5 separate regions of the Homo sapiens genome follow, and all the other regions are linked to region 3. The links are contacts of gene promoters, found by promoter capture Hi-C in blood cells and fetal thymus (Javierre and others, 2016). All regions are on one chromosome and are shown on one strand. Each heading gives the region's core, a stretch centred on a gene start or on the middle of the fragment in contact. The rest is flanking DNA. Distances are from core to core; before and after follow the strand shown.

Region 1 (4,411 bases), core at 1,636-4,135, 170 kb after region 3:
TATGTTGAAAAAATTGCAAAGTGCATCTTATACCACATGCAAAAATTAATGAAAAATGAATCATAGACCACAATGTAGAACCTAAAACTATAAAACTTCCAATGGAAAACATAGGAGAAAATATTTGTGACTCTGAGATGGGCAAACTTTTTAACAGAGCACAGAAAAGCACAAATTGTAAAAAGAAAAATCAAGGAATTGGACTTCATCAGAAATAACATCTATCCATTTAGGCTGGGTGCAGTGACTCATGCCTGTAATCCCAGCACTTTGGGAGTCTGAGCCAGGCAGATCACCTGAGGTCACGAGTTCGAGACCAGCCTGGCCAACGTGGTGAAACCCCGTCTCTACTAAAAATACAAAAAAATTAGCCAGGCGTGGTGGCAGGTGCCTGTAATCCCAGCTACTCAGGAGGCTGAGGCAGGAGAATCGCTTGAACCTGGGAGGCGGAGGTTGCAGTGAGCTGAGATCTCACCATTGCACTCCAGCCTGTGTGACAAGAGCAAAACTCTGTCTCAAAAAAAAAAAAAAAAAAAAAAAAAAAAGATGCTGCTAATGCTGCTAAGGAAATGAGAAAAAAAGTTACAGACTAGAAGAAAATATTTGCAAATCACATATCTGATAAAGGACTGCTATCCAGAATAAAAAGAATTTTCACAGCTCAATAATAATGATAATAATAAACAATTAAAAATGGACAGGACAAAAGTTTTGAACTAATACTTTGCTGAAGAAGGTACAGATGGCAATAAACAACAAAAAGATGTCCAATATCGTTACTCACTAGAAAAATACAAGTTAAAATTGAAGGAGATATCACCTTAAACCTATTAGAAAGGCTTTTTAAAACCTGACAATATTAACTGTTGACAAGGATGTAAAAATGGTACAGCCTCTTTGGAAAAGACTTTGGCAGCTTTTATAGACTTAAACATACACTTACATGTGACCCAGCAGTCCCATTCTTAGGATTTTATCCAAGGGTAATAGAAACATATGTCCACACAAAACATATGTACATGAATGTTTATAGTGGCTTCATTTATAATTGTCCCAAACTGGAAACAACCCAAATATCCATCAGCGGGTGAATGAATACGCTACTTGTGGTTCAACCATAGAATGAAAGATGGTTTAGCAATAAAAAGGAATACATTCTTGAGAAGTGAAACTTCACGCATGCTGAATTTATTCTGATGAGTGAATAAAGACTGACCCAAGAGGCTACATACTATTTAATTCCATGTCTATGACATTTTAGGAAGGGCAGGAAGCTACAGAAACAGATGTCAGCTTAGTAGTTGCCAGGCCCTGGATTGGAGAGAAAGAGACTGGCTAAAATGGGCACAAAGGCTCTCGCTTAAGCTAAATGAAACTTTCTATATTATGGTATTGTGTTACACAGACATGGTGATTGTGGTGGTTGTTATAGAGATGCATGAGTTTGTCAACATTTACACAACTAGACATTTAAAAGGGGTAAATTTTTGTATATGTAAATTATGGGCCAATAAACCTGACTTCTAGAAAAAGACCCTAGAAGAGTACCTACAGAGTGATCTTCAGGCAGCCTCAGACTTCAGCCCCCAGGCCCTTGGGGCAAGGCCGGGCAGTTGGCCCTTTGAGTGGAGGCCTGTCTTCTCCTCACTATGAATTCCCCATCTCCAAGCACATTCCCTGTCCGTAAGTTAGATGCACAGTAAATATGAGTAAATAAATGAATAAAAGAACAAATAAGTGAGTGTTTGCAGGAAACTAAAGTAGACCCTGATAATCTACAGGCTCCTGCAGGCTTCTCCAGCCTCTTCTGCCACTCCCAGCACAACTCCATTTCCCACTCCTAGAATTGACTCAAGCCTCCTCCATCCAATCCCCGACTCACTGGGCCATTTCACACTTTTGTGCCTTTGCACACGTGGGTCCCTGTGCTTGGATCACCATGGGAACCTGTACGTGTAGAAAAACACACCCCTACCCCCAGAACTCTGAGAAATATCCTGTCCTGTCCTGTAGGATAGGATGATCAGGAGTTCAAGCATGTGTGTGCACAAAATAAACACCAGTGTGAGCATGTGTGCACAGGAGACACCCAACAGTTCCAAGAAGGCTAAACTTGGGCAGAAAATTCCAGGTGGGAGAGAAAATTTTCTGTCTTATGGACAGCCCATTTCCCTTTTCCCTTCTAACTAGGATAATGGTAATAGTTAGTATTTGTTGAATGCTGTGTGTCAGGCCCTACTGGAAAGCACTTTACCTGTAGGAACCCATATGGTGCTCCTGATAACCCTTTGCACTATCATTATTCCCACTGTATAGATCAGGGAACAGACACAGGTAGGTTTTGGATGTGTGGTTACACACCCAGAAAGTCAGGAAGTCTGGCTCCAGAGCTGTGTACTTAACTGCTGCCACACTACAGGAATGACAGCCCTGGGGGGATGAACTAAGAGGTGCTGGATGAGGGTCCTGGCCTCTAAAGGCACAGCTGTTCTCCAACTCTTGCAAGGCTGAAACCAGAAGATGGCGGGCATTGCAGCTGGTGGAGGGTCTGAATACAGCTGTGAGGATAGTGATCCCTGGGCTAGGCTCTGCAAGGAAACTGAGCAGTGCAGGGCCTTACCAGCCCCAACCATCTGGGGGCCACCCTGGCTGGCACCAGCAGGAGGGTGGGCTGGCTTCTCAGAGGTCTGGGAGACTCAGCCTCCTTCTGCCAGGGCTGCAGTGGCCGACTCCTCCTCCCCTCTGTCCCCACCCTGCACCGCCTCCAGACCCCAGTCCTGACTATTGCTTAATCCCCAGGAGCCCAGTTCCTGTGGGCAGCGCCTGACATGCCTGATCCTCTCTTTTCTGCAGTTCAAGGGAAAGACGAGATCTTGCACAAGGCACTCTGCTTCTGCCCTTGGCTGGGGAAGGGTGGCATGGAGCCTCTCCGGCTGCTCATCTTACTCTTTGTCACAGGTAGGATCCCCTCCGTGCCCTGTGATGCCTTCTCTCCCTCACTTTGAGCATGTGGTTGGGGCGCGGGTGGTGGGCCCTGGGGTGAATTATGAAGGCGGTGGCAGTCCTCGCATGCCTGAGTGCCCTGTTCTGCACTCCTCTCCTCCCCACCCTGCCCATATTCTTCACACCCTCCTTCCCTCCCCAGTATCAAAACCTACCCTCAGACTCTTTCTGCATGTGGACATGTAAGGGGCTGGTGGACTCTGGTTGCATTGGAAGGGAAGGAGTGCTAACAGTGGCATCCCAGGCACTAGCTGGCAGTTGGGGGAAGCTTTGGGGGGCACTGGCACTGGTAATAGCCTCTGAAATTATAAGCCACTAATTATGAGCCCCTACAGTTATAAAGGAGGAAAGAACCTGAGGATGTTCATCTGCATCTTTGGGGCACTCTCTCCCCTGCTCTGAAGGTCCCCTTGTCCTCAGCTCTTGATGGGAGGTGAGGAGCGTAGAGATTTCCGTTGCTGAGTTGAGGGGAATTGACACACCAAATTTTTGTACACAATTGCTTCTTCCCGCTGAGGAAAGCGCACCTTTTGCTCCCCCAGAGCACTGGACAAACCTGGGCAAGAGGAGAGACGGTGCCAAATGGAGTCTTGTTCCTGCAGCTTCTTAGATGGTGGTCAGGGGGAAGGCGGGGTTCTGAGGCATGGATGGGAGGTGGTCAGATGGGAGAGGGCCACGGCCCATCTGGTCTCTCTAGTTCCAAAAGGCAAGCCACCAACTTCCCAATCCTATCTTTCAAGCCTCTGTCACAGTAATGGTTGAAGATGGCAGGCAAGGGAGGACCAAGAGAGAAGTCAAAGCAGGGGGCTCTGGGGGCTGCCCCAGCAACAGGCTGGTGCTCTAAGCCCATCTCCCCCGCCCTAAGGAGGGTTCCCAAAATAGCAGCCTCATGTCTCCCCCAAAATATCTCCGAGACGGGTCCTTCCTGAAAGGGGAACAAAGCCACAGAAATAGGGAAGCTGGAAGTTAAAGGTCAGGAAAGTCGGTACCAATGTGGGCGGCTGCAGAGCAAGCAAGAGTGGCGGGGCAGGGAGAGCCAGCCCCAGGCCGAGAGGAGAGGTCCCAGTCCCAAATGATGGCAAAGAGATGTGCAGAACAGAACTGGAGGGGGTTTTAAGACCAAGTGCCTCCAGAATAGACCCAGAGAAGGTCAGTTACTTCTCCAAGGAGGCCCAGCAAGAGCAACAGTGAGAAAACCAAACCCAGGTCCCAGGTTTCCTGGTTCCCAATTTCCCACAAACACATGCTGTGCCATCCGCTCCCAACTTGTATAAGAACCTAAGCTCCTTCAGGGCAGGATTTTTGTCTGTTTAGGTCACTGCACAGAGCAAGTGTTCAAAGCGTATTTGGTAAACAAAGGAGTGAATGAATGTCTCCTCCCCAGAGCTGTCCGGAGCCCACAACACCA
Region 2 (4,534 bases), core at 777-3,276, 240 kb before region 3:
ATAAATGAGATAGCTGTAAAGCGCTTAGTGTCTACACTTCATGGTAAGCACTCTGTATATGTCAGTTGTTAGTTTGGGATGTACTCAGTAAGTATTTGTTGAATGAATGAATGAATCAATCAATGAATTTTTGGAAGTAATGAGACAAGGAGAGAGAAGGCCTGAGAAAAACATCATTTTATCTGTCTTTCTGACTCTGAAACCTCTAGGCCTCTCTTATTTTGGAGGGAGGGAGTTTCCTAAGGAAGATTCCATAGTCTCCCTTCAGCTCTCAATTATTTCAGATCTGTGACCCTTAATCCCCAGCTGAGCAGTCCTTCTAGATGTCTTACCCCAGTCCCTCCCACTACCATCAAGCTCCTACCCTCCTACCCCTGGGTCAGCAGCCCCTTTCTGGTTTGGGGGAACGTTTGCTGTTGTCCAGCCTACTCCTTCCTGTTCTAAGCTGGGTCCAGGGCGGGCAGGATTCAGAGTGGAAGCCCAAGGACCACTTCAAACCCTGGGATTGTATGTGGGGATCATTAATTTAAAGAGGCCCAATCCTGACCAGCATGGGTATGAGAACCTTTTAGATCTCATTCTGATGAGATCTTTCTCTTCCTCTCTTTATTGACTTTCCAGATTGTGTCTTCCCCTCCTCCACCCCAGGCCACGCCCTGATCTTTGCCCAGCTCCTCCCCTTTGAGGGTTGTCTCCTTAGGGTCAAGAATTTTAAGAGGGTTACTGTTAAGGCTGCACATCTGTTGGGCACCTTGAACTTTTTCCAAACATAAACTTGTTTTACATAAAACTCAGACTTTGTCAGAGCACTGGAATCTCCACCCAGGACAAAGCCTGGTCCTGGGTCCTTCTCTGAGCACCCTGCACCCACCCCACCCTCCTCTTCACTTCCCTCAGCACCCAGCCCCAGACTCCAGAGCACCTCCAGCTCAGAACCAACCATACTCACCCTTCTTCCCTTAGATAAACTTCCTTTCAAAGCCTGGCTTAATCCCTTCCCCAATTCTGAGCCTCCCTCTGCTGGGGGAGGGGTGGGGGGAGCATGGATCCCGGGCTGCTGGGCAGAGGGGGAGGGGAGTGGCTGCCCGAGTAGTGACCCAACCCGGACTCAGACTGCAATTCTCCCAAGTTCTTTGTGACACAAAAGGTAAACAGAAGGCCTGGCTCCCCCACCCCCCGCCCACCCCCCACAGATCTCCCCTCCCCCAGCCAGCCAGATGGGCTGGCAAGCTGGAGGGAAGGGAGAAGGGGAAAAAAGGGCAGATTGTGCAAAGGAAAACAAAAGAGACAGAGAGACATCAAGAGACAGGAAGCATGGAGAGACTGCGAGAGAGCTGGTGGATGAGGGATAAGGGGGGAGGATAAGAGAAGGGGGGACTTGGTGACGTGACTGCAGCAACAGAGATGGCCTGGGAGGGGCTGAGCCCCAGACACAGGAACACAGAGGGACAGAGGGAGTGACCGACAGGGACGCAGAAACATGAGAAGTGACCAAGAGAGACCCTGAAGGGAAGAGGCAGGGGAGAACAAACAGTGAGAGAGGTACAAAGAGACAGGGAGAGCTGCAGACAAACTTTGAGTGACAGGGACAAAGAGGCTAAGCTAGCGGAAGGTCTGGCTGATCAGGTGGAGACGAGAGAAAGTGGGAAGCCTTTTTGCCCCACCCCTGCAGTGACTGTATTTCCTTTGAAAAGTTGCCCACTTTTTGGTGTTGGAACTGGCAAGAGCAGTTCTCCAACGGGTCCTTGCCCTCCCTCTGTGCCAGGCCCACACTCCAGCCCAACCCAGAGCCAGCGGGGTGCTCTCTTCCTCACCTGCACAGCAGAGGCAGACTGTTTGCTGTCATTGTTCCCTGGGGAGCTCAGGCCTGAGGCCTGCTGCAGCAGGAACTGCCGGGCCACTTGGAGAGCCTGCAAGACAGGGGCTGAGTCAGCAATGGCCTGGGAGGCTGGGTGGGATCCAGGGATTAGGGAGTGTTTGGGGCAGTAAGGAGAAGGAGATCAGGGTAAGGTGGAAGGTCTTGGGGGTGAGAGGGTCATGGGTCCATAAGGGCTTGGGGTAAGGGTAGTAGAAGTCACTGAGAAGAGCTGTTGGGGTTCAGGGATCAGAGCCTCTACAGACTCAGCCTGGGACCCAGTGAAGTTTTGTTAGGACTCAATGGGGACAGCAAATGGAAGGGCCCATGGTCAAAAAGGGACTCTTAGAGGAAAATAAAGGGGGTTGACTCAGGGCATTAGTAAATCAGTACTATTTGTTGAGCATCTACTATGGGTCAGGCACTGTACAGGCAAGAGCTTATTTAATCTTCCTCTGTAAGGCTGTAAGGTAGGGATTATTGCCCCATTTTGCAGATGAGGAAACGGAGTCTCCAGGAGGTTAAGTAACTTACCCAGGATCATACAGCTAGGCGGCATCAGAGCCAAGATTTGAGCCCAGGAAGCCTGGCTCCAAGGCCAACTGCCTTACTGGGTGGTCAGTCTGGGGGCTAAAAAGTAGCATTCACTGTGGAGCCAGAGCACACAGTTGGGAGGATGAGGGAAGAGCCCTGGGGTCAGTGGCACAAGGTCTGAGTACCGTGTGACTTTCTGAGTTCAAGGATTGTACATGCATGCTGCTGGAGGAATTAGATTAAGTTCTGAAAGGTATACTATCAGCAGAGATGCATGGACCATCGTGCTGTGGGCTTGGTGGCCACAGTGGCTTAGACTGAACTGAGCCAGAGGGGTCATACGAGTGGGAGGCATATGGAGATTGCTGGAGGAATCACTCCAGTGGGTCAGTGTGACAGTCAAGGAGTAGGAGGGGCCCGGAAGGTAAACTGATGGGCAGTGAGACGTCTGGTAGGAGTGAGGGGTCAGGAGGGCCCAGGAAATTATCTATGAGGCCAGTCAAGCCCTCTATGTCCTCACTATGCTTCAGTGGGAGGTTTGAAGGCAAGTTCTGAATCCACATTTCAGCAGCACAAAATTTATCTGCTTCCAGATTGCTCAAGACCCCCTTGGGAGCCAGTGCAGGTGTGTCTAAGCCCTTGACACAGGGCTCCAACCTTAGGCAGTCCTGGGTCTGAATCCCAGCTGTGCGGCCTGCCAGCTGCGACCTTGGGCAAGTTATTCCAGTTCTCTGCACTTCAGTCTCCTTATCTGCAAAACTGGGAAACTACCCATCTCCAAATTACTAGGGGGATTAAAGGACCAATGTTTGGCATCCAGTTGGCATTCGGGAAGTATTCACTCCCTTCGGCTCTCATTAATCTCTCCACAATTCTCCACTTCACCTCCTCCAGCCTCTCCCCAACATAGCCTCGTGCCCTGCGCACTTATTAGACGAAATGCGCCCGCCTGTGGCTCTCTCTCACATCTGTCCACACATACACTTGTTTTTTCTGTATGGGCCCCTATTCTCCTACCCCACCACAAGCACCTTCAAGGCAAAACCTTTTAAGGTGGGATATGGCTGCACCACCCATCATCGCTCAACAAGCAAAGAGAGTGACCACTGTGTACCAAGCATATACACACAACCACCTTCGCGTCCGTTCATCATCAGTGCAAACAGCCGAGCCTCCTGAGGCTTTAAATCTAGTTTACCCTAGGAGGGCAACTAAATATGCACTGGCCTATTGACGGGAAGGTGTCCTGCAGCAAACCTGGAGCTCAGATTGGTGTGCTCCTCACAGGCCACCCCCACCCCACCTCCTTCCCTGGATGTCACACCCAGAGAAGTGCCCTGGGCTTCCAGAGGGGGACAGGATGTTTCTCCTCTTCCAGATTCACTTCAGAAAGCAGAAATCTGACCTTTCTAAGTCAAAAGGCTCTGCGGAAAGAGGAGGAAGGGTGGGGGGGGGGGTTGCGGGTGAGGAAGGGCAGGGAGTCAGGTGGTCATTAGGAAGGAGCCCCTGCCTCTACTACCTTGCTTTTACAAACTCCTCCAGGTCTACTGACAAGTGCTCTTTGTCCTCCAAAGGTGGAGGTAGAGTAGGGTTGAGGGGGTACAGGGGTCAGAGGCCAGGGCACAAGGGTAGGGGAAGAAGATGGCTCAGAGAGGCTGGCCAGCCCAGGCGACCCAAAAGGGACACTGGTTGGGGTGGGGAGATGACACACTCCAGATCCCCGGGGGACAGGAGGGAACAGCAGGGAGGGGCTCCTGGGGGCAGTTGGGGGCAGAGCCCTGCTCAGTCTCCTGGGGTGGGGTGGGGGGTGGCCAGGGGAGTTGACTCCCCACTGACTCTCTTACTTTGTGGTCCCCTGGAGCATGAAATTACATGATTTACAGGAAAAAAATGGCAAGGCCTTGCAGTCTCATTCCTGAGACCTCCCCCTCCCTGTGACAGGCCCTTCCTCCCCCTACACCCCCTACCCACAACCCCTTTCCTTCTTCCTGCCAAGACCAGGCCAGATGAGAGCCAGGTAAGACCTTAGGTCTGGCCAAGGCTCCCCTCCCTCAGCTTCCCACCATTCCTTCTCATACATGGGTCCTCACTCACCACTCTTCTCACATCTATGAAGTACCTGCTGCGTGCCAGGGACCAGGCTAG
Region 3 (4,430 bases), core at 394-2,893:
ATAAATGTTGGGCTTGTACTTTATATATCTTTTTCTTATTTTTCTAGTAATTTTTTTTTACTGTATTTTACAAAAAAAATTACTCATGTGAATTGCAGATTTTTTTTTAGAAGGTCCTCTTCCACAGGAACTGTGGGTAGCTCTGCTCTGAGCAGGAGTTTGGCACACTTTCTGTAAAGGGTCAGGGATGAGCCATGTGGTCTCTGTCACAGCTGCTCAATTTTGCTGTCACAGCATGAAAAGGGCCACAGACAATAGGTAATTGAGTGGGCATGGCTGTGTTCCAAAAAATAACTCCACTTATAGGCACTGAAATTTGAATTTCCTGTATGTCACAAAATATTGTTTTTCTTTTGATTTTTTTTCACTCATTCTTAGTTTTTTTCACTCATTCTTAGTCCCCGATCTGGACTATGAGGGATACCCATAGTATCTTGGTATCTAGACTACCCAGATACCACTGGCTCTACATGGTGGGGGCAGCCAGTGGATGCACCTTTCCTGGGCACCTACTATGTACCAAAGATGCCGGGTGGTCCTGCCCTCCTGTAGCAGGGTCATATAGGCTGACTGGTCAGCATGCTCACCGGGTCTGTTTCAGCATCTCTCAGGAGGCCCAGGCTGCAGGCTTGGGAGTCATGCAGACTGTGAGATGGCTGCTCTTGTGCACATATGAGTTCCCCCTGCACCTGTTCCCAACAGCCTTCCCAGGAGACTGGGGCGTGGGCATGGGTGGCTTCCACGATTGGGAAACCAGGGGTGATGGAGGCACCAAAAGGGGGTGAGGGGCACCCCTCTGAGGACCCTAGGGAAAGAGCTCACCTGGAGATACCACCAGATAGAATCTGACGGACTTAGAGACAGAGTTGTCAGAAGGGCGGTAGATTCTACACCAGTAATGTCCTGAGTCTTCCTCTCTCAGATCAGTCATGGTGACAGTGAAGAAGCCAGCATCAGGGTCGTCCCAGATTGTGAATCGAGAGGTCCAAGCCATCGTCCTGGGCTTGGAGCTGGTGACTAACCTGATGCACACAAGTGCTGAAGCCTCCTTACACCAGCCTTTCTTCTCGTAGAGACTGCCCGTGGGCGGGTACTGGCATCTCACGGTTAGCGTCTGCCCTGCCACACTTTGAAGTACCTGAGCCTTGGATTGTGCCTGAGAGCCTGGAGAATGATGAAGTAACGCATAGGTCAAGGCCACGCGCACAACCTGCCTCACAGCAGGCCTCTGGCCACAGAGCCACCTGCTCCCTGACCCTGCTGTCCTGACAGTCCCCACCACACCCATCTCCTCTGCTCCCTGGGCTCCTCCTCCCCCTCACCTGGGAACAGCAGCAGCAGCAGTAGCAGTGGGTGTAGGGCTCGCCAGGCCATGTGGTCCTTTTCCTGTGCGCTCATGGGAGGGGACACCTGGAGAAGACTGGGGAGAGGGAATTGGGAGCTGGGCCTGATTCTGCTGCTCTTCCAGCACGTCTGATAGAAAAATGAGACAGGCTGAGGCCTGGGTTGGGGAGATGGGAGACTGCAAAGGGCAGATTCTGTGGGCACAGGGAAGTGGGGATCTCCAGCTGTAGGTGAGTCTGGGTCTGGTGGGCTCGGCGCTGTCTGGCACACAGCTTCCCAGGCCTCTGTAGAAGATGCCTGCTCTCCCCTGTGCCCAGCTGCCCCTCCCCACCATGACCTACCCCTGAGGGAGGAGCTGAAAAGGCCAGGAGGAAACTGTGGGCGAGTTATGGACTGCTTCCCCCTTGCTCCCTCTGTGTGCTGCCTCTCTTCTTTGCAGGGCCCTAGCTTTGCCGCCCTTTCCAGGGAAAGGCAGGCTGAGGGTGGATGACAAACTCAGGGGCACTTGGAACCCTGATCACAAGCCCCAAGCCTCACTGGTCACAGGATGGCCAGGGACGTCATGCCCAGGCCTCCATGGTGGGTCAGTGATGTGCTTCCACTCTGGGAGTTTCGTGGGTGCGGGAAAGGAGAGGGGAGAGGAGGTGGAGATTCAAAACCAGCAAGGGAGGCTAGGGAGGGTCCCTGGCAAAGGTCGGGGAGGGGAGGGTGGGAAGAGCACACGGAGCATGGGATGCATCAGTGGGGTGGGGTAGAGGGAGCCCAGGAACCAGGACCTGGCCTCATCTCTGCATCCTGGACCTCTGCCACTTAAGGACCCTGGAGAAATATTGTTTAATTAAAACATAAACAGATGAAAGACTCTAGCATATTTTTCTTTAGTTAATGTCAGCACTTTGAAGATTCAGTTTTAAAATACGATGCAATTTACAAAGAGAACGAGCTAATATATCTTAGGACTGGTAGAGACACTGTGTGTAATTGCAGTTGCACCACTGGGGGCTCTGCTGGACTGGCGATCTGCTGCCGGGAGCTCTGTGAACAGAGGTAATAACTGAGACGGGAATTGGAACTTGTCAAGTGGACTCGATTCCAAGTCCACTGCTTTGCCTGCCCCTGGACTCCTGCTCTCCACTCCATCTCAGTACACTGCCCTTCTCCTTACAGTAGGAGTATGCAGAGACTGAGAATGGGAAAGGCAGAGGGGTATGCAAAAGGAGGACACAGTAGGGCTATCAGATGTTGGCGCCCAAGGGCCCAAGGTGGGAAAGCAGGCTGGAGCTCCAGAGCTAGAAGACAGCTCAGGGAGCGATGCCCGCCACTCACTCACACAAGCATTATTTACAAAGCATTCTCATGCACACTTTCTCAAGACCCTCAGCAGGTTCGCGAGGGAGACATTACTTCTCTTTTTCACAGATGTGAGAACTGAGGCCCAGATATGGTCAGCCACCTGCTCAGAGTCACACAGGACCAGAACAGGCCTCCTGACTTCGGTCTGGAGCCTTCCGGCTGGTCTGGTTGAAATGCGACCCACAGACATGACAGGAAACCAGGGGTGAGAAAGAGGCTCCCACTGAATTGCACACACAGGCGGAGGTGAGCTTTTAGGGGGTTTCCTCGCCGACAGTGGGGCCCAGCTTCTCCCTGAACATAATTACATACCAAATCAGGGTGGGGGCATCCTCCCGAGGGGGAGGAAGGCGGCCCTGTCCTCAGATGGCACCGAGGCACGTCACCGTGTGTGTGTGTGTGTGTGTGTGTGTGTGTGTGTGTGTGTCAGCAACTGTGTTCCCATGCTGACTTTCCCCTTCTCTGACCCCTGCTGACTCTAAGTGACAGCTCCTTCTTGTAGCTTACAAGAGCACCCCTTGCTATGTGCCACTAGCTGTGTGTCTCTTCAGCCTGCAGCCAGCTCTGTATCGTTCTCTGCTGTGTCAGAGTGTGTCGTCTCTCCCCAGGGGACAGGAGCTCTCAAAGCGGGGAATCTGCCCCTCTCTCTGTGTTGTGGCTTCCCCACCTGTGTGAGTGGGGTGGGCACCCTCCACATAGACTTGGGGCCTTGAGCACCCTAGGGGGAGGCCCCTGCTGGAACCATCTGCACGCTCAGCTTCCTCTGGCATCTGGGACCTGGGGGCAGGGAAGCCTGGGCTTAGGCAGCCCCTCATCCAGGCTGGGACTGGCCCTGCTCCCTGGGGACCCACAACAGCCCTTGTCACAAGTTGAATTTCTGCAGGAGGGACTGGGGCAGGTAGCTGTGGTGGGATCTGGGGCCCTTTCAGAAGTCTCTTGAAGAGCTAGGGATAGTGCCTCCCCCTTGGCACGATCAGAGCAGGGCACAGCAAAGTCCTGTCAAAGAGCCTGGGGTTCTGGGGGATTCTGGGTTCCCTGCCCACCCTCTGAGAAGGTCCCTCAGAGAACTTGGGAACCTCAGCAACCTCCTCTCCCAAACTCATTGTCACACACACTCACAGGAACCCAGAGAAGGAGCTGGGAGAGCTGGAGACTTCATGTACTTGCTTTTCTAGCAAGGCCCAGTCTAGCCTGCAACAGTGGCTCCGAGCCTGGGTAGGTCCATGGGAAGGGAGGGCTGGCCTCTGATGCAGAAATGGGGAAAGCAGGGAGCCGTAGAGGTCTGGAGGTGATCCCCAAAACGCAGCACAGGGCTAAGCTAGGCTGGGCAGGGGTGAAGGGGTAGCTGTAAATTTCCCCCATGATAGAACCAGAAGTAGCAGGGACAAAAGGGAATTTCTCTCAGTGCTGATTTCACAACTGAGGGAGATGAGGTCCAGAGAAGGCAAGTAGCCTTTCCACAGTCACTCAGCTATTTCAGGGCCAAACCAGGACTAGCACCCAGGCCTCCTCTCTCCTGACCTGGTGCTCCTCCTGGGCTCAGAGATTCTCCATGGGCACTTCCTTACTCTTCATCCAGGCTTGCCTTTTGCAGATCCAAGGAGTCTTCTCCCTGAACCCCAACAAGTCTGCTTATACCTCTGACCCCAATGGCTCTCTGCCCCAGCTCCAGCAGGATCCTTCAGTCATCAATTGCCCTGACAGGGTTATTCCTGCTCCCATGACAATGGTCC
Region 4 (4,895 bases), core at 632-3,131, 220 kb after region 3:
GCCATAGGTCAATACAAACTTCAAGAACAGAACAGACCAGCACTGGAAGGGATGGCCCATGTGATGGTTAATACTGAGTGTCAACTTGATTGGATTGAAGGATTCAAAGTATTAATCCTGCGTTGTTTCTGTGAGGGTGTTGCCAAAAGAGATTAACATTTGAGTCAGTGGGCTAGGGAAGGCAGATCCACCTTTAATCTGGTGGGCACAATCTAATCAGCTGCCAGTGAATATAAAGCAGGCAGAAAAATGTGAAATGAGCGAGACAGGCCTAGCCTTCCAGCCTGCATCTTTCTCCGATGCTGGATGCTTCCTCCCCTCAAACATCAAACTCCAGGTTCTTCAGTTTTGGCACTCGGACTGGCTCTCCTTGCTCCTCAGCTTATAGGCAGCCTATTGTGGGGCCTTGTGGTCATGTAAGTTAATACTTAATAAACTCCCCTTTACATATATATATATTTATATATAATATATATTACATATATATATTAGTTCTATATAATATATATAATTATATATACATATATATATTAGTTCTGTCCCTCTAAGAGAACCCTGACTAATACTGCCCAGCATTTCCACCCTGGAGATAAGATTGGGAGGTAGGATATAGGAGTATCTGCAGATCCCACCAAACCTGAAAGAAGTGTTAACATGTATTTGCCTTGGGCAGAGTCTGAGTATCTATTAAGCAACTGTAGCATCTTTCTTATCTCTAAAATAAGGCTTGGATCAGATAATCTCTAAATTCCTTTCCAATAGTAACATTCTATGAGCGTGTATCTATAATTATATCACATTAATAGCATATTCTATTCTTTTGGGGGAGCATTTGCATTTTATAAGAGGCAGGTGGGGGATAAGTAATGAAACAACACAGGATTTGAAGACTGAAGATCTGGGTTTCATTACAAGCTCTGTTATATGCTAGTAACTTCTCTTCTGTGACTTTTATTTCCTCATGTATAAAAGAGGACCTGGGCATAGTGGCTTACACCTATAATTCCAGCACTTTGGGAGGCCGAGGTGGGAGGATCGCTTGGGCTCAGGAGTTCGAAAGCAGCCTGGGCAACACAGCAAGACCTTGTCTCTACTAAAAATAAAAAAAATAGCCCAGTGTGGGGCGTGTGCTTATAGTCTGAGCTACTTGGAAGGATGAGGTTGAGGATGCAGTGAGCCGTGATTGTGCCACGGAACTTTAGCCTGGGAAACAGAGCAAGACTCTGTCTCTAAAAAAAAGTAAAAAATAAAGAGGGATACAAATTTTCACATTGGTAGCATATACTAAAGTATTCTATAAATGTTAAAGTACTATGTACATGTTTGATATAATTTTTATCCATTTTGAATAAGTTGTGGCAAGCAAACCAATCTGATTCGATGTTAACATTGGAAGTAACTATTTTTAAAATTCATTCATGTATACACTTTCTCCATAGCTTTCTATTTTAAAAAGTCAATTGAAAACTTCCAACAAACTTTATCATAATGCAACTAGTGGGAAAATAGATTTTTCTATACCTTCATCTGGGTTAGGTTTTGTGAAAGGTGGTTGGGTGAGGCGTGGATGTGGAAGAGGGAGATCAGTTCAGTGTAAGGTCCAGAAAAAGCAATAAGATCTGGGAAAGACCCAGAATGAAAGCCAAGAGAGTGCTAACCAGCTGTGGTTCCTTTCTATCTAGGTAATTTCTCCACAACTTCTCTCATACTCTCTCGTAGACAGGCAGCCTTTATTCTGCATCCTCTCCACAGGCATGTTATTTGCATCACATTAATTTACACATTTGCTTGTTCCCTTGCAGTGTTCTCGAATCTTGGTATGTCTGTTCTGTTTCTCCCCTTTTCCTGACCCGCTGAATGGGAATGTATCTTTATTTCCCCTGGGTATCCAGTACAGAGATCTGTATCTAGTGATTTCTTAATAGATCTTGTTTGCTCACTTTCCTTAGCATGTTCCCTCCGAGTTAGGCAGATTCTGGACTACTTGAATCCCTGCCACTTGTTACTGCCTCCTACCCTGCCTGAAGAGCCCCTGGGGCCTGAGAAGCTCCTCTCTGCCCCACCTTCCTCCTCAGTTGGTCTTAGCAAGATTCTCCCAGCAGAAGCTGAAGATGCTGAAGGAGCTCTCCAGGGCATGTGCACACTCGTCTGGCTTCTTATCACCAGGAAGGCCGAAAACACAGAGGAACATGCAGCCCTGGGATAGATGACAAACAAAGAAATGAGACACTTACCTGGGAAAGGAATGTGGCTTGCCTAAACTAAACCAGCTCCACCGAATGAACCCAGACCCTATCCTTGAACACTCTTCTGTTGGAAATATCAGATTCTACATGATTCATAAAATGGAAATGCTGGGCCACAGCAACATACACTTTTTTTTTTTTTTTTTTTTGAGATTCTGTCGCCCAGGCTGGAGTGCAGTGGTGCGATCTCAGCTCACTGCAAGCTCTGCCATCTGGGTTCATGCCATTCTCCTGCCTCAGCCTCCCAAGTAGCTGGGAATACAGGCACCCGCCACCACACCTGGCTAATTTTTTTGTATTTTTAGTAGAGACGGGGTTTCACCGTGTTAGCCAGGATGGTCTCGATCTCCTGACCTTGTGAGCTGCCTACCTCAGCCTCCCAAAGTGCTGGGATTACAGGCGTGAGCCACCGTGCCTGGCCAGCAACATAGACATTAACAAAAATCTTGATTTAACTATTCAAAGAACTGAAATTTAAAACACAAGAAAAATTGCTATCAAGAACTTTTCAAAAATTTAATTTCTAGTATATACCTTGAGCTGAGTCTATGTGCCCACATTTTCTTCACCTATAATGTCAAGTGTTAAGATTCTGCTTTTTTTCAAGATCTTTAATTATCTGACAAAGACTTGATTACATTTAATTTACTAATAGAACCAGAAAAACATTCTTTATGCTTTCACAAGGATTCTTCAATAAGAATTCAATAAAAAATGACATGGAGAGTAACCCTCAGTAACCTTGAAAATTAAATTAACAAGAACATCCCAGCCGGGCACAGTGGCTCATGCCTGTAATCCCAGCACTTTGGGAAGCCAAGACAGGCAGATCGCGAGGTCAGGAGATCGAGATCATCCTGGCTAACACGGTGAAACTCCGTCTCCACTAAAAATACAAAAAAAAAATTAGCCGGGCATGGTGGCAGGCGCCTGTAGTCCCCAGCTACTCGGGAGGCTGAGGCAGGAGAATGGCATGAACGTGGGAGGTGGAGCTTGCAGTGAGCTGAGATCGCGCCACTGCTCTCCAGCCTGGGCGACAGAGCGAGACTCCACCTCAAAAAAAAAAAAAAAAAAAAAAAAAAAAAAAAAAAGGAACATCCCATTCCTTAATTAACATTAGTTGAAGTTTTAATGTAATATAGCTTGTTACAAAATAAGTAGCAGGGAATTTGACTTACACTTGCATTATGTGGGAGATCAACTGGTTGTACAAGACCATTACTCCTCACTCACCTTTAATGCTGATGGGTCAAGTTCCCTTGTACTTACTTTCTCAAACATAAAGATCCGACTCAGCTGGCCGCCCCCTTTCTCAATGACTGTGGAGATGTATAAGGCAGCCTCCTGGATAAGATGACACAAATGCAACATCCACGCTGTCCTGTGGAACTCTAGGCTGACCAAAACCAGAGTCATCGTACGGAATTCAGATACATACTCTATAGGCTGGCCTTCATCAATCTATAAAGACACATTGAGTTACCTACCTGTATTTTCAACTATCAACATCATGTTCAGGCATTTTTAATTATGTATTTCATGGTATGTATGAGAAAACAACTTATGGGTCTCAGCAAAAACTTAAAAGAAAATTCAGTATAGAAGATATACAAACCAATGAACTTGGAATTAAAACTGACTTTAGGCAGAATTCACTGATGAAATCTGTCAAGATTTACTCTCTAAGAATTAATTTGACACATCCATTAGTCATTACATCTCTTACTAAGGAATTCACATATATTCATATATATACAATCAGTCAACTTATATTTACCAAACATACACTCTATACCCTTCTTACAGTGTACTAAATTGTTAAAGAACAAACTAAAGAACAAATATGGCTTCTACTTTCTAGGACTGAGAAATCTAACTAAAGGTTTAAGACATGTTCATCACAGTATTATGTTGGCACAGATGGGTAAATTTGCTGGAATTACAATGGGTTGCTGGAGATTAACTGGATAAATATAAAAAAGTTGTCACTTATAATTGTACACCTGTTTATGCATGTGCATGCACACACACACACACACACACACAGAGAGAGAGAGAGAGAGAGAGAGAGAGAGAGAGAGAGAGAGAGAGAGAGAGAGAGAGACTCTATGAGGATTCAAGAACTAGGAAATAAGCTTCTTCAAAAGGTTTTTCATTATGTGCTTCTGCAGCTTTTGGTCAAGTTCAGAGTGTGGATCCAATTCCAGTGCAGTTCTTAAGAGTCTCTGAGAAAAGAAAAACAAAATGTCCCTGGCCATGTGGAAAATTAATGTTTAAAATTTGGGGCTTAGGTAGGAAGGACAAAGTAACTTACCAGCACTCGTACGGTAATGTGGTAGATAATTGAGGCACTTGTCAAAATGCTCATCAAAATCAAATGGATCAATGATCCACATATCTCTTAACTACAGAAAGGAAACTGTTTAATTCTGTGCCCCCACACAAGAAAGGCTGAGGATTCTATTGCCCTTGTTTGCCTTTTATCTCCTCAGCCTCACTGTTCTACCTCATCTATCTTCATAGGAGAATATTCCCAGCCTCCCTCCTAAATTGAGTTCCAATGGTCATTGGTTTGGCCAGGCAATATGTGAACACTACCAGAGCATTGCGCTGTGTACTAGGAAGGCCTTTTCAGAATGGCAGTACAGG
Region 5 (5,013 bases), core at 2,051-4,550, 240 kb after region 3:
TGCAGTTTATTCTCACAGTATGGATGCAATGAGAAAACCTTTCTGCACAAGGCCTATGGAGAAAACATGAAAACTGGCACCAAAGAATCAGCTGCCATGGGAAGAATGAAAATGCTCGCTTTCTAGGGCCAGCATTGTGCTGCAGGAGTGAAGCCAACATCCACCTCAAGCTTTAGTGGGTAACTTGGACTCTGTCCAGGACAGTGTGACTGACCAGTGCTTTCCAGAAATTGTCAAGGATCAAATCTCAGGCTTCTTCCTTTCAGTGCTTGTTAAAGGTTCTAGAGTAAATGTGAATTACTCTCTTCATCTTAATGATCCATTCCAGGTATCCATCCACTGGAGAATCGTGCTCTATGATAACATACGGGTATACATGCTCTCTCTCTCTCTTCCTCTCCCCCACTCTCTCCCACTAGGCTGAAACACATGAATCTTTTAGTTCCCCAAATGCTGTCACAAAGTCTATGATTGAAAATCTCTAGTTTGGCCCTTCCTTTAGGAGTATTACAAATCTCCTCAGTGCTTCAGCAAAGAAGTTGTTGAATAGTCTTGTTCTCTACTTAGGAAAGGCAGTTTCAAGGTTTAATAACCCTCTACATTGTCTTAGAAGTAGCCACAGCAAGTACGATGGTCCAGATGACCAGTCAACAGAGGGACAAGCAGGCCACAACTTTTCAAAGCTAGAAAAAGAGATTCGGCAATGTATATTTTTAGTGCTTGAGTCTTTTATCATTCTATCCCCAGAATTAGCTTTTTCTTGGCTAGAGTCCAGAAATATCAACCTACCATCTGGGCAGAGAGGAATTCTTATTATTACCACAGATTGGAAGAATGTATCTCAGGAATTTATTGTTTCCGTATCACAAGATAGAACTTCCTTGCCTGGAAGCCATCTCTGAATACAAAGCGTCCATTCAGTTAGTCAGTGTGAGATTCCCCCACCAGAGGGATAAATGCTGTCTAGATTCCATGGGAAGGAGTGGGCTGCTGCTTTCCTGATTGCAGTTTTGGTTGAGAAGGTTGTTCTTCCCTGCTGAGATGGCTGGCTGACTTCACCAGTCAAGGTAAGTGCTTTGTGTACTGCTGGGGTGGCATGTGTCTCCTTGCATCATCCGAATCCATGAAATGTCAATGTCATCAACAGTCTGAAATAGGTCCTGACTGAAAGAGTAAGACAAAGGCTTGCAACTTCAATTTGCCAGGCATCGCTGCAATTGTAATACTGAGCCACTTATTAAAAACTAAGTGGTTTCTGTCCTGTAGTAAAGGGCAGAATGTGATCATCAATGTCCCATTGGAAGAGTTGATCAATTTCCTGGAACAGTGAGAAACATGACCTTGATCAGCTCCATCACATGGCGTGGGGTTAGGACACTCGGATGATCTGTGTCATTGCTTCTTCATCGGCTTGGTTTGGATCCTAGAGACAAAGATGACATGATGATTAAAGTCCTTTGCAAAAGCAACAGGAACTCATGGCTCTCACTACTTATCCCCCCAAGAGAATACACATAACTTTACCAAGTAAATCAAAGGCTTGTAATACATCTTAAGTCTGCATACATGGCTTAAAGTGTAGCCCCATTAGGAAAGAAGAGACAATAAACCTTATTCTTAAAATAATTTAAAGTCTGGCCTGCACTCCATGGTGAAACACTGCAGGGCTGTTAGTGTATCTCTTTCCTAAGAACCTTGTGTTGTTCTCTATACTTAAGGGTTAAGAGTATTCAGATTCAGGTGTCTAAGGAAAAGACCCAGAGAAACCATGTCATGCTGTATTTTTGTCACTGTTTTTTGATCATCATTTAAATACTGAGTACTTAGCAGGGCTAGAAAGAATCATTAGAATCTATACACTTTAATGTACTCGTTTTACAGATAAATCTGAAGGCCAGATGGGTAAAGTGATTTGCGTGGACTAGGGTCAGGGTCAGAAAGTTAGGAGTCCAGCAAGGGCTAACTCCCAAATCTCCTGACTCCCATTTCATCTTCTTTCCACTAAACTCTATATGCTGTTTCTCACTTAAGACCTACCGTGTTAACACAAGGATAAATCCTTGGAAGCTTTTTGCAACACTCCGCAAGAACCACCTTTAGTTCCCCCATACCAAGGCTCTGAAGCCTTGGTAGGCAGGATCTGAGAAAAAGCTGAAAGCCTTCTGGAGATGGAAGACTGGAACTGGGTCTTGAACAATGAGCAAAAACAACTAGCATTTACTGAACTCACCATGCACTAGGTATGGTGCTACACAGATGCCTAATGTGGATTACTGAATGAAATCCCTACAACATTGCTGTGAAGTATCAACAGTATTCCACTTTACAGATAAAAATAAAAGAGGCTGAATTGACCAAGATCATATTGTTAGCACACAGAATGAGGAGAGTTCCTGGCACAATGCCCTCCTGCCACAATAGCTGTCAGGCCCACATTCATACACCGTTATGAATGAATAGCAATGAGAAAGGAGGGGCTCTCACACTACAGGTGAGGATTAATAGCACTGAAAGAGTTGTTAGTGTTCATGTGTGGGGACACTGAGGAAACCTAGTTTGATTGTTGAGGGGGTGATAAGGCAAAGTTGCTTAGATGTTATACAGAAATAGTTTGAGATTTGATGCAGTTAAGAAATGAGAACTATTAATAGCATGCATCCTTGACCTGGGGACTGGCAGGTTAAAAAAAACACTTTAACCATGTACTGTATAAGTACTATATAAGGCCAATTAGAGGAGACTGGAGATTAATTTGATGGATATTGCAATAGTGCAAGTGGAATGTGATGTTAATATAGAATGGAGTATCAGCAAATGGGAGGAATCTATTAATTCAAGAAACACTGATTGCTTGGTTCAGAACTGGATACTAAACCCAACAAATACATCTAAGTCAGTACTTAAATACAACTTACTTAAATAGAATTAAGTCCAATAAATATAACAGAGAACGAAACAATCCTCTACCCTCTATACAACTTACAGTCTAGTGAAGGAAACAATCTTGAAAAATTCAACAACTTAAATATTATTACACTGTAAAGAAAAGGGCCAAGTGCAATGGTGTGCGCCTGTAATCCTAGCACTTTGGGAGGCCAAGGCGAGAGGATCGCTTGAGCCTAGGAGTTTGAGACCTGCCTGGGCAACAAAGTGAGACTCCATTTCTACAAAAAATTTAAAAATTAGCTGGGCATGGTGGTGCGTGGCTATAGTCCCAGCTACTCGGGAGCCTAAAGTGGGAGGATCACTTGAGCTGGGAGGTCAAGACTAAAGTGAGCCATAATCACACCACTGCCTCCAAAAAAAGAAAAGATGTTGTAAGAACATACTGAGAGAGAAGAGATCTATTCTAGATAGGGTATTTAATTAAACCCAGACCTAACAGATAGGGAGATAGACATGCATGAAAAAGATAAAGGGCATACAGACTGAAAATTCTAAGGACAAAGACCCGTGGCAGGAAGTAGACCAATGAACAGTAAACAGCAGCATAGAGACCAAGAAGTAGAAATGCAGTTAGAGGTAGACAGGAGCTGGAGCATGTAAGGCTTTGCTGGGCATAGTAGTAAGCACTTTGGATGTCAGTCTAAGTGCAAATGGGAAAGGGTAGGGGTTGAAGGAGCTTGAGCAGAACAGGGACTTGATAGGATAAACATTTTAAAAAGATCACACTAGGATGTGGAGAGTAGGCTAGAGGGGAACAAAAGTGGAAGAAGGGAAACCAAATTAAGCAGCTATTTTATAAATCTAAGCCAAAGAAGAGAGGATTAGACCAGGCTCACATCAGTTAGAAGGGAAAAAAGTAAACATTCAAATTATATTTGTGATGGGGTAATAAAACCTGTTCAATAAAAATAAAACTTGTTCCTTGAAAATTAAGAAAAGTGTGATTTTCAAGAAAGAATGAATAGTAATAAGTGACAAAGACGAAGAGCATCTCAACCCTCCAAGTAGCTGGGACTACAGGCATGCATCACCAGGCCTGGCTAGTTTTTGTATTTTTTTGTAGAGATGGAGTTTTGCCATGTTGCCCAGGCTGGTCTTGAAATCCTGGGCTTCCCACCTCAGCCTCCCAAAGTGTTGGGATTACAGGCATGAGCCACCAAGTCTGGCCTAGTGGTTTTAAGATAAAAGATAATCTAAAGAGACATAAGATTGCATCCAGTTTAGAGAATGTGAGTAGTCCCAGAGTAGGAAAATAGCAAGAGGACACTGCTGAAGGCTTCAACTCAAGTCAATACAAGGTAATAAAGAGAAGAATAAAATGTATATGTCTTCCTACCTGCATATGGGGACTATCCTTTTCCTTTGGAGAGAAAAATCGTCCACCTTCACCACGCTTCCGTGCCATGGCATGACGGTGCCGAGACTCATGCAGGTATTTCTAAAACGAGAAATAAAACCATTTAACTATTAATACTATCCAGAACCAGCACAGTTATCTAGTGCACAAATTCCATTCTCCAAAGTTTAAGACAGCTGGGATCAAAGTCACAAGGGACAATTATGACTTAGAATGACGATGGAAGCTTTGGAGAAAACACCTAGTAAGTAATATAGCTAACCATATATAACTACTGTAAGACTGTGAATGCTTATAGTATGAATTTTTTTTAAAAAAAATAACAGACTACCACCTACACTTCACAATATATACACTTTCCTCTGCTTTAATAACAGGCCAAATTTCGTTTGAGCAAATGAGTGTTCAGTAAAAAGACTTTCCTAGCATTAAAGTTTATTATTATTATTTTCTAGAAACAGGGTTTCACTCTGACACCCTTGCTGTTGGACTGCAGTGGCATGATCATGAATCACTGCAGCCTTGAATTCCTCGGCTCATGTGATCCTCCTGCCTCTGCCTTCCAAGTAGGACTACAGGCATTTGCCACCACACCAGGCTGGACTTTCCTAGCCTTATCTGCATGTTAGGTGTGATCAGGTAACTAAATTCCGGCTAGTGGAAGGTACACAACTTCTTCAAAGTTTCCTTGAAAGAAAGGGTACCTGGCC

The links. Contacts are between HindIII fragments. The CHiCAGO score rates a contact against its expected background, and 5 or more counts as called.
Region 1: the fragment with the promoter of TREM2 here is called in contact with the fragment with the promoter of NCR2 in region 3 in 2 of 17 cell types (neutrophils and monocytes); the score reaches 9.6 in neutrophils.
Region 2: a contact is called between a fragment that was not itself captured here and the fragment with the promoter of NCR2 in region 3, in 4 of 17 cell types (naive CD8 T cells, M1 macrophages, M0 macrophages and 1 more). The highest score is 9.3, in naive CD8 T cells.
Region 4: a contact is called between a fragment that was not itself captured here and the fragment with the promoter of NCR2 in region 3, in 2 of 17 cell types (neutrophils and monocytes). The highest score is 6.5, in neutrophils.
Region 5: a fragment that was not itself captured here is called in contact with the fragment with the promoter of NCR2 in region 3 in 6 of 17 cell types (neutrophils, megakaryocytes, M0 macrophages and 3 more); the score reaches 9.1 in neutrophils.

The regions. Positions count from the first base shown.
Region 1 is chr6:41,161,590-41,166,000 of GRCh38, reverse strand. It overlaps TREM2 (triggering receptor expressed on myeloid cells 2), which reads left to right and starts at 2,885. Exons shown (of 5, transcript NM_018965.4): 1 at 2,885-2,958; 2 at 4,388-4,411. The coding sequence starts at 2,919. The HindIII fragment of the contact is 7,981 bases long and covers 1-3,273 here.
Region 2 is chr6:41,575,362-41,579,895 of GRCh38, reverse strand. It overlaps FOXP4 (forkhead box P4), which reads right to left. Exons shown (of 17, transcript NM_001012426.2): 3 at 1,815-1,910. Among named protein-coding and RNA genes, the nearest start is that of MIR4641, 21 kb to the left of the region's middle. RefSeq lists enhancers at 273-895, 896-1,519. The HindIII fragment of the contact is 6,912 bases long and covers 1-4,534 here.
Region 3 is chr6:41,332,821-41,337,250 of GRCh38, reverse strand. NCR2 (natural cytotoxicity triggering receptor 2) reads right to left here and starts at 1,643. Exons shown (of 5, transcript NM_004828.4): 1 at 1,323-1,643; 2 at 823-1,164. The coding sequence starts at 1,374. RefSeq lists an enhancer at 2,896-3,025. The HindIII fragment of the contact is 13,900 bases long and covers 1-4,430 here.
Region 4 is chr6:41,108,525-41,113,419 of GRCh38, reverse strand. It overlaps the pseudogene ADCY10P1. Among named protein-coding and RNA genes, the nearest start is that of NFYA, 38 kb to the right of the region's middle. The HindIII fragment of the contact is 5,004 bases long and covers 1-4,383 here.
Region 5 is chr6:41,093,767-41,098,779 of GRCh38, reverse strand. NFYA (nuclear transcription factor Y subunit alpha) reads right to left here. Exons shown (of 10, transcript NM_002505.5): 9 at 4,283-4,384; 10 at 1-1,423. The coding sequence ends at 1,370. It also overlaps a transcript of OARD1 not described here. Among named protein-coding and RNA genes, the nearest start is that of NFYA, 23 kb to the right of the region's middle. The HindIII fragment of the contact is 2,462 bases long and covers 2,070-4,531 here.